Linked DNA regions of Homo sapiens: regions 1 and 3 are each linked to region 2. The links are contacts of gene promoters, found by promoter capture Hi-C in blood cells and fetal thymus (Javierre and others, 2016). All regions are on one chromosome and are shown on one strand. Each heading gives the region's core, a stretch centred on a gene start or on the middle of the fragment in contact. The rest is flanking DNA. Distances are from core to core; before and after follow the strand shown.

Region 1 (3,775 bases), core at 811-3,310, 150 kb after region 2:
CAATCACAGCTCGCTACAACCTTTACCTCCTAGGCTCAAGCAATCCTCCTGCCTCAGCCTCCTGAGTAACTGGGACTACAGGTGCCGCCACCATGCCTGACCAATTTTTTGATTTTTTGTAGAGAAAAGGTCTTACTATGCGGCCCAGGCTGATCTCATACTCCTAGGCCCAGGTGATCCTCCTGCCCTGGCCTCTCAAAATGCTGGAATTACAGGTGCAAGCCACCATACCTGGACAGGACCTTTTATTCCAGAAGCCACCAGAAGGGTCATAGACCTGCCGTATATTTCATGCTGGGGCAGAAGAAAAATCTAACCCCAGAATACATTTAGAGGAACAGTGGGAGACAAAAATAAACTTGTTATGATTACATTTTATAAAAGCACAATCATTACATAGGTTTGTTGCATTAAGGCCTTGACCTAAAAGAAAAAGCTAAAAAGATGAGCAACTCCTAAACATGCCTTTGTCATGCCTCAAAATGTATTTTAAAACATAGTAGCAATACCTTCATTGGAGGACATTTCCATCCCAATATATAAAACATAAAATTTAGAAAACTTGGGAAGTACAAAACTTGAAAGCAAAAATCACCTAATATCCCGCTATCCAGAAATAATTGTACATTTTGGTATATTTCCTTCCTGTCTTATTTTCCTCCGTGGATATGTACACGTGTACTTGGTTTTTCTTGTTTAAATTTTATGATCTGTATTGTGTCCTGCTTTTTAAACTTAACATAGTATCTTATTTTTCTAAGTTAAGGATCACTTCTAAAATATGATTTAAGTGATGGCATAATTTGACGAGTCCATCAAATAATTTTGTCAAATATGCTAGATCCAGATTTAGGTTTATATATGAATTAACAATATGAATGAGAAAAATATAGAGAATTTGACTCATAGCTTTAGATATTCCATCAAGTTGTAGTATTTATATTATCAGATGAAAGAGCTACTTGTGGAGACGGTTGTCACCCCTTTCTTCAAACTCTCTTTTCTTGGTTTCAGTGAAGCCATATTTCCCTGATTTTCTTCTACTGTGTTAGTCACTCCTACGTCTCCTCCAAAGCTTTTCCTCCTTCCATCTATTTTCTAAATGTTGTTGTGGTTTAGGACTCTCCTTGGATACTCCCCTCTCTCTCTTGGTTTTCTCATTCAACCCCTTGGTTTTCAATATCATTTATATGCTAACAACTCTCAAAATGAAATATTCTCTCTAACCTCTATCCCAAGCTCCAGACTTGTATGTTAGCATCTCCAGTTGGATGTCTCATTAGCATCTCAAATGGAACTCTGAATCTCTGCTCCAAAATAGGTACCATCTTCAGTTTCCTCAGCTTGGTAAAGTGACTTCAGTCCTCTCAACTGCTGAAGGAAAATGCCAGGAGGCATTGCTGGTACTTTTCTGTCCCTTATTTCTAGTTTGCAGCAAATTCTGTCTCCCTCCCTCCAATATATCTCAAATCCACCTCCTCTGCCCATCCTCTCGTTCATCACCCTTCTCTAAGCCATCAGTATCTCTATATGAACCACTACAACTGCCCCCAATCACTTTCCTGCCTATAATCCCTCCAATGAAACTGGTTGTAGGACTATGGAAATGATACAGTTTGTGGGTAGGCAAACCTCCTCCTCTCTGAGAGGAAGTGGGACAACCTCTTGCTTCTGAGTTCTTCAAATCATTTCTCAAGTTCTTTCCTGTATTAATTTTCTATTGCTTCTATAACAAATTACTACAAGCTCAGTGGCTTAAATCAATGCAAACTTATTATCTTATAGTTCTGGAGGTCAAAAGTTCTAAAATCAAGGTGTTGACAAGGCTGCGTTCCTTCAGAGGCTCTAGCAGGGAATCAATTCCTGCTACGCTAAGTAGCAGCCAGAGTGAACCTTTTCAAATAAGAATGCTGTTCCCTCATTGAAACACATCAAACCATTAGGATGGCCTATAAGACCCAGATCTCAGTCTGTCCAGTCTTTCCAGCCTCCAGTTCTGGCACTTTCCCTGTTACCCGACTAATGAACTCATATGATTTGCTTTCAGGTCCCCGAACCTTACTGCTTCTCTATCCCTGGAAATCAACTCCCCTAATTTCCTAATGTGCTTTGTCTTTCCTCACCACACATAGTAATCCAAAATGTCAATTCCTTAAGGGCAAGACTCTGTTCAGGTCACCTTTATGTCCCCAGTTTGTACAAAGGACACAGCCAGTCTTTGTTGACACGACTTGTTGACTGGCCCATTCTCACTTTTCAGGTCTCAGCCTACAGATCATTCCTCAGAGAGACCTCTGAGACTCCATCATTCTTGAGTGGGTCTCCGCCCTTCTGACCTCAATTATTTCACGCTGTTCTTTCTGTCACTGACTTCATTTGTCTTTATGCATGTGTATCTTTGTCTGTTTAATGTCTCTTTCCCCCACTAGACTAGAAACTCCCATGAGAGCAAGAACCACGTCTCTTTTTCGGCTTATGCTTCGCACAATGCCTAAAATAATGCCTGGCTCATACTAAGTGCTCAGATCTTTGCTGGCAGAATGAACAGCCTCTGACTGAATGGGGTTCTGAGGGAACCTCTTCTCTCTGCTGGGGGCAACACGGGAAAAAATGCCAGGGTCAATCCTGAAGTAGAGGAGTGTGATCCACAGAATAATGGGACCCCAAAGAGATCTATGTCCTAATCCCTGGAACCTATTAAGAAGACATTGCCAATAACTTCACACACTTGGCAGGTGTGATTAAGTTAAAGATTTTGAGATAGGGAGATTATCTTAGATTATCCAGATGGGTCCATATAAAGCGAAGTGAGAAGATCAGAGTCACAGAAGATGTGATGAGAGAAGCAGAGGTCAGAGGGAGACAGAGATTTAACAATTCTGCTGGCTTTGAAGATGGAGGAAGAGGCCACAAGGAATGCGGGTGGACTCTAGGAACTGATTCCCCACCAGAGTCTCTGAAGGAACGCAGCCTTGTCAAAACCCTGATTTTAGGACTTCTGACCTCCAGAACTGTAAGATAATAAGTTTGCATTTTTTTAAGCCACTAAGCTTGTAGTAATTTATTATAGAAGCAACAGAAAACTAATACAAGGAAGAACTTGAGAAATGATTTGAAGAACCCAGAAGCAAGAGGTGGTCCCACTTCCTCTCAGAGAGGAGGAGGTTTGCCTACCCACAAACTGTATAATTTCCATAGTCCTACAACCAGTTTCATGCAATCTCTCTCTCTTTTTCCTTAGTTCTCTCAGTGGGAATCTATCCCTGTTTCTTTCTCCTTAATTCTCTCAGTGGGACAAATAAGTGGACTATGACTTGTTTCTTGAGTATAGGTTCACGGAGAGGAGGGAGAACCTGGAGCTGGGTTTGAGCTGTAGAAATGAAGGAACGTGGACCAGGTGTGGCGGCTCACGCCTGTAATCTCAACATTTTGGGAGGCTGAGGCAGGAGAATCTCTTGAGGTCAGGAGTTTGAGATCAACCTGAGCCATAAAATGAGACCCTATCCCAACAAAAAATTGAAAAGATTAGCCAGGCATGGTAGCATACACCTGAAGTCACAGCTACTTGGGAGGCTGAGGTGGGAGGATGGCTTGAGCCCAGGAGTTTGAGGTTACAATGAGCTGTGATCATACCACTGCACTCCAGCATATGTTGTAGAACCGGGGTGGTTACCGAAGAGGAATGAAGGAGAAATAATAAATAAATGGGGAGGCTGGTCAGCATCTCCCTTCCCATACACCCATATAAGAATTACTCTCTTGCTGTTTTGTTGTT
Region 2 (3,865 bases), core at 1,062-3,561:
AAATGTACTACTAGGAACCCATGCATGTTTCTCATAGTTAGAGGAGTATTCAATAGCATTATTAAAGTTTTGGACTGAGGTCAGGAATCAATTGAAAAAATTACATTTAAAATTAAGCAAAATAATTAGATGAATATTTTCTGATTTTTAAATAGGTTTCCAGAATTTCTGGCCAAGTCACTATTGCTCATGATATTGATGTTGTTGTATTATTTCCAATACAGGATGACTTTCCTAAATCCCTGTTGATAGAGTTGGAGATAGAATCAGGAAGAAATACCAGGTCTCATACTACATGGTCATTCATTCCATTAATCAATTCACAGTAATAATGCAATCGTAAGGCTCTTGGTAGAGTTCCTTAGAATCCTGCTTCATAAAGTTAGCTCTCTAAATAGCCAGTGGGCAGTCTGGTTGGACACTTCTCTCTGAAAACCTAAGGCTGTTTGCTTTTGGGCTTTACAGAAGTGGCTCAATACCAGGCTCATTAATGGGAAAAGGGTCATGTGTATGGATACATGTATTTGGACATTTATACGTAATGCGTGATCACTTTTGATCCAATGTTTGGCTTTACCTGTCTTCATCTCCCCTGCATTACCAGAAACTGACTTTGCACTTTCACTTACCACCGCCTCCCTGGGAGGCAAATTCATTTTCCACTCTGGATTTCATAGCTGAAGTCTGAGAAGCAGGAAAAGGAGAGACTGGGATTACCATTCCCAGATTCCAAACTAGCCTGCTAGTTACAGCGGTATGATGCTGCCCCCTATACAGTGATTCGTACCAGTCAGATGAACGGTTCTTTGATCGGTTCTTCTGTCCTCCACCACTGGTCTATCCACCCCATCTTGAACTTTGTTAATACAATATTTCTGCTAGTTATTGTTCAGGGATTGAGAGTCAGGGAAACTGTGTTCTGGTCCTTGGGTTACTTAATGTCTTGAGACCTTAGTTTCCTCATCTGTAAAGCGGGAGGGCTGGACTAGATGTATGTTCCTCCTGCTCTGAGCTGTGAAGCGTCTAGGATGCCAGGAGAAAACCAGACCCAAGTCACAGGGTTCTAAACAAACCATACCTTAAATCTCTCAGTAATGGCCAGCCACATCTGCAAGAAGCAGGCTGGGAAAACAGCTGAAGAATAACAGATATTTGTTTTATTTGTCAATTATGGCTCAGTAAAGCTAAAAAAAAATAGATACTTCTGTTATCAAGAAATTATTGCACTTGATTCAAGGCTGATATTAAACCATAGCAGACTCACTCAAGGTGGGGGGTGAGAGAAACAAAGAGATTACAAAACTGAAAAGAGGTGTTCATTTGCAGAGAACTAAGGGAGTATCCTTCAAACAGAAACTGGAAGCCAGAGATCTCTGAAGATAAGGATCATGAAATGTTGTTATTCCCCAGACAGAATGTATCCCACGTTTTCCACCGGCGTTGTTTTTGGTAAAGAAGGGTAAGTGGAAGGAAGTGATGAGGCTGAAAAATACCATTTGCTTCAATTCAGCCGCGAAGGATCCGCTACCTTTTGGTTCCTATTAAGTGAATTTAGCTTTAGCTTTCATGATAGCATTTTCCCAAAGGAGTCCTTTAGATCTGACCCCTACCCTCTTCGCAGCTAGACTGACATCAGGTGACGTTGCAAGTGCCCCCAGCCCACTAAGCGCTATCAGTAGGAATTGGCCCTCAGCCCCGTCACAGCGCTTTCCCATGACATCCCCCAGCTTCTCTCTCCTAGGACCTCCTCGCCAGCCTACCCCTACCTGTTGGGTAGGTCTTACTTGCTGGGAACACCTGCTGTCCTTAGAATGGGAGCAACCAACGCCTTGGAATCCTGGCCTGTCCCTTCCTCGTGAAGGGGGCGCCTGCGCTCAAGTGCCGGCTTCGCCGCCTCAGGCAGAGTCTAGCAGGCGGGCGACCAGGCGTAGCTGAGTTCTGTGGCCTGGGGAAAGGGGACGCCCTATCCCCACAGCCCTGTTTCGCAGGGCTTCAAGACGCTGAGAACGGCCGGGAACCCCTGGAGTCTTGGAGGCACCCGCCAATTCCAGGGGCCCACCCCAACCCCGCTCTCAGTCTGGGCCAGCGGCGGCGGGACAGGCGCCCGGTCCCCACACACCGGCTGAGACGCCCAGCCCACTGCGGCTGAAGCTCCGGCCGCTGTTGCGGCAGGTGCTGCAAACCGGTCTGCCTTCGCTGCAGGGCTTGCGGGGATGGGGCAAGTGGGTGGAGAGAAAAGGGGAAGAGCCTGGGCGGCCGGCAGGCGGGGCCTGCAGCCTCCCCAGCCGCGGCAGCCGCCGCGCAGCCGGCTCTCTCTGCGCCTCGCTCCGACTCCGGCGCGCACCAAGCGGGAACCCGCGCCCGAGCCCGGCGGGCGCCGCTGCTGCTCCTCTCGGTCCCCGGTTCCCGGTCCCCGAACGCGCCGCGGCGAGGCTGCGCCCGGCAGTGGAGCCGCTCGGAGCTGCTGGGCTTTGGCGGCCGCTCGCTGCTCCGTCTGGCCGGAGGACCGGCGGGGAAGGAAGGGGAAAGCGGGGACACACACACTCGCCGCGGCGCGCGCGCACTGCACACTCGTAGCCGCGCGCCCCCGCCAAGGCGCGTCCGGAGCGAGTTTGGCCCCGCGGCTCCAGCCCCGGCACCTGCCCGCCCTCAGCGTTGCCCCCGGCCCCGGCCCCGCCCGCCGCCCCCTCCGCCCTCCCGCCCCTCCCGCCCCTCCCGCCCCTCGCCTGCACTGCTCTCCCTTCGCTGTGGGGAAGCGACAACGTCCCGATAACTTGCAGACTGTGGCGCAACTGGTCTTGGTAGCGGAGGCACCCGAATGCTGCCCGGGTGAGGTAAGTTTCCTGTGCGTCCCCGGCCCCTTCCCACTAGACCCTTCTGAGGGGCTTGCGCTTAGGGGCTCTGCATCTCTGCTGAAACCCGTCGGTCTCTCTACCCTTCCACTTTGCCTGTCTGCGTTGTGCTGGGGGTGACGTGGAGAGGGCGCCCGTGGCCACCGAAGCGGACCTTCGTTCCGCGGGGGCCACAGCTGCGCGCTCCCAACGGACACCCACCCGCTCGTCACCCGGATCCCCGGGGCCGCAGTGACACTCGGAGATCACTCTGGGTTCACTTAAATAGGAGTACTCTCCCCTTTTCCGGGGAACCTGCAGAGTTTGGCAGCGGAAGGAAAGGTCTCCCACCACCCTCCCCCGGTACGAAACAGCGGTGAACTTGTTAGGCGCCCTGGTATCTCAAGAGGGGCTTGCGAGTTGGTGTTCTGCTCATTTCTGGCGCTGGTGCCGGATTGAACAGGTGCGGTATGGTTCCAGTCTAAATGCAGCAACAGACTTCTGCGTTTCCCAGGCTTTCTCCCCCAGCCTGGTCAACGTGACGCTTCAACATCTGGGGCAGGGGCTGGGAGTGTAGGGGCACTGGGGAGGGAGAATGCCCGGGTTTGATTTACTATGCCGGTGCCAGGAGTCGCCAGAACAGAAGAAAACAAATGTCTGCTTATCTGGCATCTATGCAGATGAGCGTGTTGTCATTTCTTATCCCCCCCAACCCCCAGCTCTCTTGTCTGGTGCCCAGCGTGGCTGAGTAGAAACCTATTCCGGAGAAGTTATTTGGGTAGATTGATTAATTCTTTCATCGAATCTACTGAAATCAGGGCTCCGAACAAGGCAATCCTAGTTACTCTGATGCTTTTTTAAAGGGAGCGTGTTACAGATCAGAAATAACACCCACTATCATCACTACCTCTCTGTGACATTCTCAGATGCAGGAGGCCCTAGCTTTAAGGGGAATGATCCTTAAGGGACCGGTAGGACCTCAGAATGTGTTAATCTCGTGCAAGGAAGAAGCGGTCTCTGTGTCAGTACTTCTG
Region 3 (3,554 bases), core at 994-3,493, 130 kb after region 2:
GTTCATGGGTTTTAAAGAAAATCATGAACAAACTAAGCTGCACAATCAGCATAGTCCCTCGCCCCAGGTTATTTCTTTATTTTTAACTTATTTATTAATTATTCTAATCTTGGAGACAAGTCTGTTCTCCCATTCCTGACCCCCAACCCAGTGTTCTTTGGAATATTTGATTTGGATATAACTTTAAGATTACAAATTAGAGGGGTTTTAAAGTTGTAAATACAAAAGAGATTTAAAGCGGTAAAGTTTCATTTGAGAACAAAATCAAAGGATGGAGTCTTCTGAGATTCTGCTTCATAAAAAACAAAACAAGACCCTGTTTTCCAAGGAAGTATTCAATGTAATAAAAACATCAAACGTTTCCATTTCCTTTGGAATTTGGGGTATGCCAACTCAAGCTGCATTGATGTTTATCTCTATGCTTTTTATTCATTTTTTGGAGAAATTTTGTTTTTAGCATATGGGATATGTACACACATACATCTACACACACACACACATATGTATAGCTTATTTTTAAGTGTGCATTTTTTTTGTTTTTTTTTATTATGAGGGTCCTGAATTGCTTCAGATGAGTTAATAGATGGGTGGGAAGAAACTACACTTTATGATAAAGCTCCTGATTTACCTGGTCAAGGGAAGGCTGTCTTACCAGAAGCCAGGTGGCCATGCCGAGCAGATGCAGCATGTCTCAGGCATCCCTTGGCCCTCAGAGTCCCTAGTGGGGACACACAGTGGCTGGTATACAAAGCAGAGTCTGGTCAAATCTGGGGCACCAGGCCGAAGCCCTTTCCCCTCAGGCTTCCATTTCCATGAGAGAGGAATTTAAACCCACAGTCTACTCCTGGAATAGGAAATGTTACAGACATCCATGCCCTTCCTGCTTATTGACCCAAATTCAGCCTTAGCGAGGTCACTTGGGCCGGAAAGCGTTCAGCACCCAGATGGCCTGGAACAGTATCTTTGTTTCCAGCTTTCCAGCCTCAGAATGCCTGTCTCCCCACATGTTCTCCCTCAGTAGATAAATCTGGGCACCTGTTTGTGTTAGGCAGGGATACAGCAGTGAACACAAGGAACTTGGCCCATGACCTCAGGAAACCAAGTTAAGGGGTTCTGTGCATTTTAGCACTTTACTAAATTACCTTTAAAAATGGTTATCCCATCTTAGACGTCCCCCCGCTAATTAGGGGAGCCCTGTTTTTCCGAGTCCTCAAGAGTACTAAGCACTGCTCCTTTAAAAATGTTTTAACAGCTAGATAGGTGAAAATGCCTTAGTTTTCACTTTAATTTGCATTATTATTGTAAGTTAGACTTTTTCAGATGATTTTTATTGATTTATGTGTATTATTATTTATGAATACCCTTTGCTGTCTGATTTGTAAGCACTAATATATTTAGGGCCTTGCATTTTTGTTGCAGATGCTTTTCCATTCTTAAATTAGACTTTTACTTTTCCTTACTTTGTGTTTTTTTTTTTTTTTTTTGACCCAAGCTTTTATATAGTCAAATTTGTTAATAGTTCCCTTAAGGCTTTTATCTTTGCTCTTATTTTGTAATTTTGTGCTAGTAATGCCTTGCTTTAATTTTAATAATTTGTAATGCAAGACTTCCCATGGTATTCTTAATTTTCAAAAATTTCTTAGTGATGTTTTTACATTTTTTCCCTCTAATTGAACTTTAGAATTATAAGGTCACTATCTCTAAAAAAATTTCTATTGTGATTTTTGTTGAAATTATATTAAATTAATGAATTCAGAAAGAAGCATCTTTAAACTTGTATTTTTCCTTCCAAGAATGAAATGTTTATGTATTTATTGTCTTTTATGCTCCTCAGTAAACTTTTATTTTCTTCATAGATTTTATACCTATTTTTAGTTGAATATATGTCTGTGTAACTTATGTGGGGTTTTTTGTTATTAATGTTTTGAGGTTTTTTTTTTCTTTTGCGCATGGGATTTTTTTTTCCATTACATTTTCTGACTGGGGATACGTTAGATCTTGATTTATGTGAGTTTATTTTGTAAACTGACAACCTGTTTTTTTTTTAACTATTCTACTCGGTTCATGACTGATTCTTGGGTATTCTAGGTAGCAATCATATAATGTGTAAATTATCATTTTTCTCCTTCTAACCAATATTTTGTAATTGGCTTGTCTTATTAATTTGATATTCAAAAACAGTATCAAAGAATTCTTGTGATAACAGCACAGCCTTGTCTTACTTGTGTTTTAAAAAACAAATGCCTCTTGTACTGTTTCCAAGAGTGCATTCTTTGTACACACAAGTTATTAATAGATACATAAATAAAAATCCCTTGGTCACGTACATTTGGGAAGTGTCACTCTAGTGCTTCCATTAGTATACTGTTGTCTTTTAGCTTGAAACATTATTTTCTGCATTAAGAAAGTTTTTTTCTGCCTCCAATTTTACTAAAACTTTTTTAAAAATCATAATTGAAGGGAGAGGAAGGGAGGGGAGCAAGGGTTGAAAAAACTATTGAATACTGTACTCAGTAATGGGGTGACAGGATTGATTGCACCCCAAACCTCAGCATCGCACATTATACCTGGTAACAAACCTGCACTTGTACCCCTGAATCTAAAATAAAACTTGAAATAAATTTTTTAATTAATTAACTAAAATCTTTATTGAATATTGGCTTTTTCATATAATTTAAGCTGACCATGGAAAGGCAATTATTGTAAACACAGTTAGCTTTTTGAGATACTCCAAGTACTAGCAAATAATAAAATCATGTTTCTCTTAAAATATTATTTAATTCAGATTTTATATCAGTTTAGATGAATGGGATCATTTTATTTCCTTATAGTTTGGAGAATGTCTTAAAATTTCTTCCTATGGGTCTACTGATCACTTCCCCATACCAGAGTAATGTGTGGAAATTATCTTAAGAGTTAGTGCTTTTTGCAAGTTATTTTGGGGTGGGCAGTTTGTTGAAATCATTGAGAAATTTTGGTTTTGGCAGAGGGGAAAAAGCTTGTGTTTCTTTTGCCTGAAAGTCTGTGCTTTTTCATCTCTGTTTTCCTTTTATTGAGAATTTTAATGTAATTTCATGTTATATTTGGGCCTATGCTTCTTCATTTGCAAAATTTGGGGTGTGGTTGACTGCTAAATGCCATTGAAGTCTCTTGATTTCTTGGTGGTGGTGGTTTTGTTTGTTTTATTCTGTGATCATCTCTTGCAGCAGTCATTTTATGAAGGCCAGGCAGGATGCCTTGGGACGGGGAAAGAGAAGAAGGTAAAGAGTGGGGAGAAGGTTACATCTCCTTTCGAGAAAACCTGAGTTGGTTTCCCTTTGGTGCAAAGGCAATAATATCTTGCATATTTTCCCACCCTCCCTTAAACACCCTGTGGATTAGGAACTCAAATGACTCTATAGGTTTAGGAAGATTAATCCTCTGTGGGAAAAAGTAGAGATTTTCTCCCCCTTTTCTATGTTCTTGGCAAAGTGAATACAACAGAAAATTATCAAAATCTGTCATGAGAGTTTGAATTTAGGAAAATTAACTTGAATGTGTATAAAACATGACAC

The links. The method cuts DNA at HindIII sites, captures the fragments that hold promoters and counts their contacts. A CHiCAGO score of 5 or more calls a contact.
Region 1: a contact is called between a fragment that was not itself captured here and the fragment with the promoter of PIP5K1B in region 2, in 6 of 17 cell types (erythroblasts, total B cells, naive B cells and 3 more). The highest score is 11.4, in erythroblasts.
Region 3: a contact is called between a fragment that was not itself captured here and the fragment with the promoter of PIP5K1B in region 2, in 5 of 17 cell types (total B cells, erythroblasts, megakaryocytes and 2 more). The highest score is 10.6, in total B cells.

What each region holds. Positions count from the first base shown.
Region 1 is chr9:68,854,193-68,857,967 of GRCh38, forward strand. The region is part of intron 4 of PIP5K1B (phosphatidylinositol-4-phosphate 5-kinase type 1 beta); the gene reads left to right. Among named protein-coding and RNA genes, the nearest start is that of PABIR1, 76 kb to the left of the region's middle. The HindIII fragment of the contact is 1,975 bases long and covers 1,074-3,048 here.
Region 2 is chr9:68,702,929-68,706,793 of GRCh38, forward strand. PIP5K1B (phosphatidylinositol-4-phosphate 5-kinase type 1 beta) reads left to right here and starts at 2,312. Exons shown (of 16, transcript NM_003558.4): 1 at 2,312-2,834. RefSeq lists enhancers at 1,826-2,751, 3,440-3,529 and a silencer at 2,170-2,689. The HindIII fragment of the contact is 6,803 bases long and covers 1-3,865 here.
Region 3 is chr9:68,836,142-68,839,695 of GRCh38, forward strand. All of the region lies in intron 4 of PIP5K1B (phosphatidylinositol-4-phosphate 5-kinase type 1 beta), which reads left to right. Among named protein-coding and RNA genes, the nearest start is that of PABIR1, 58 kb to the left of the region's middle. The HindIII fragment of the contact is 1,506 bases long and covers 1,491-2,996 here.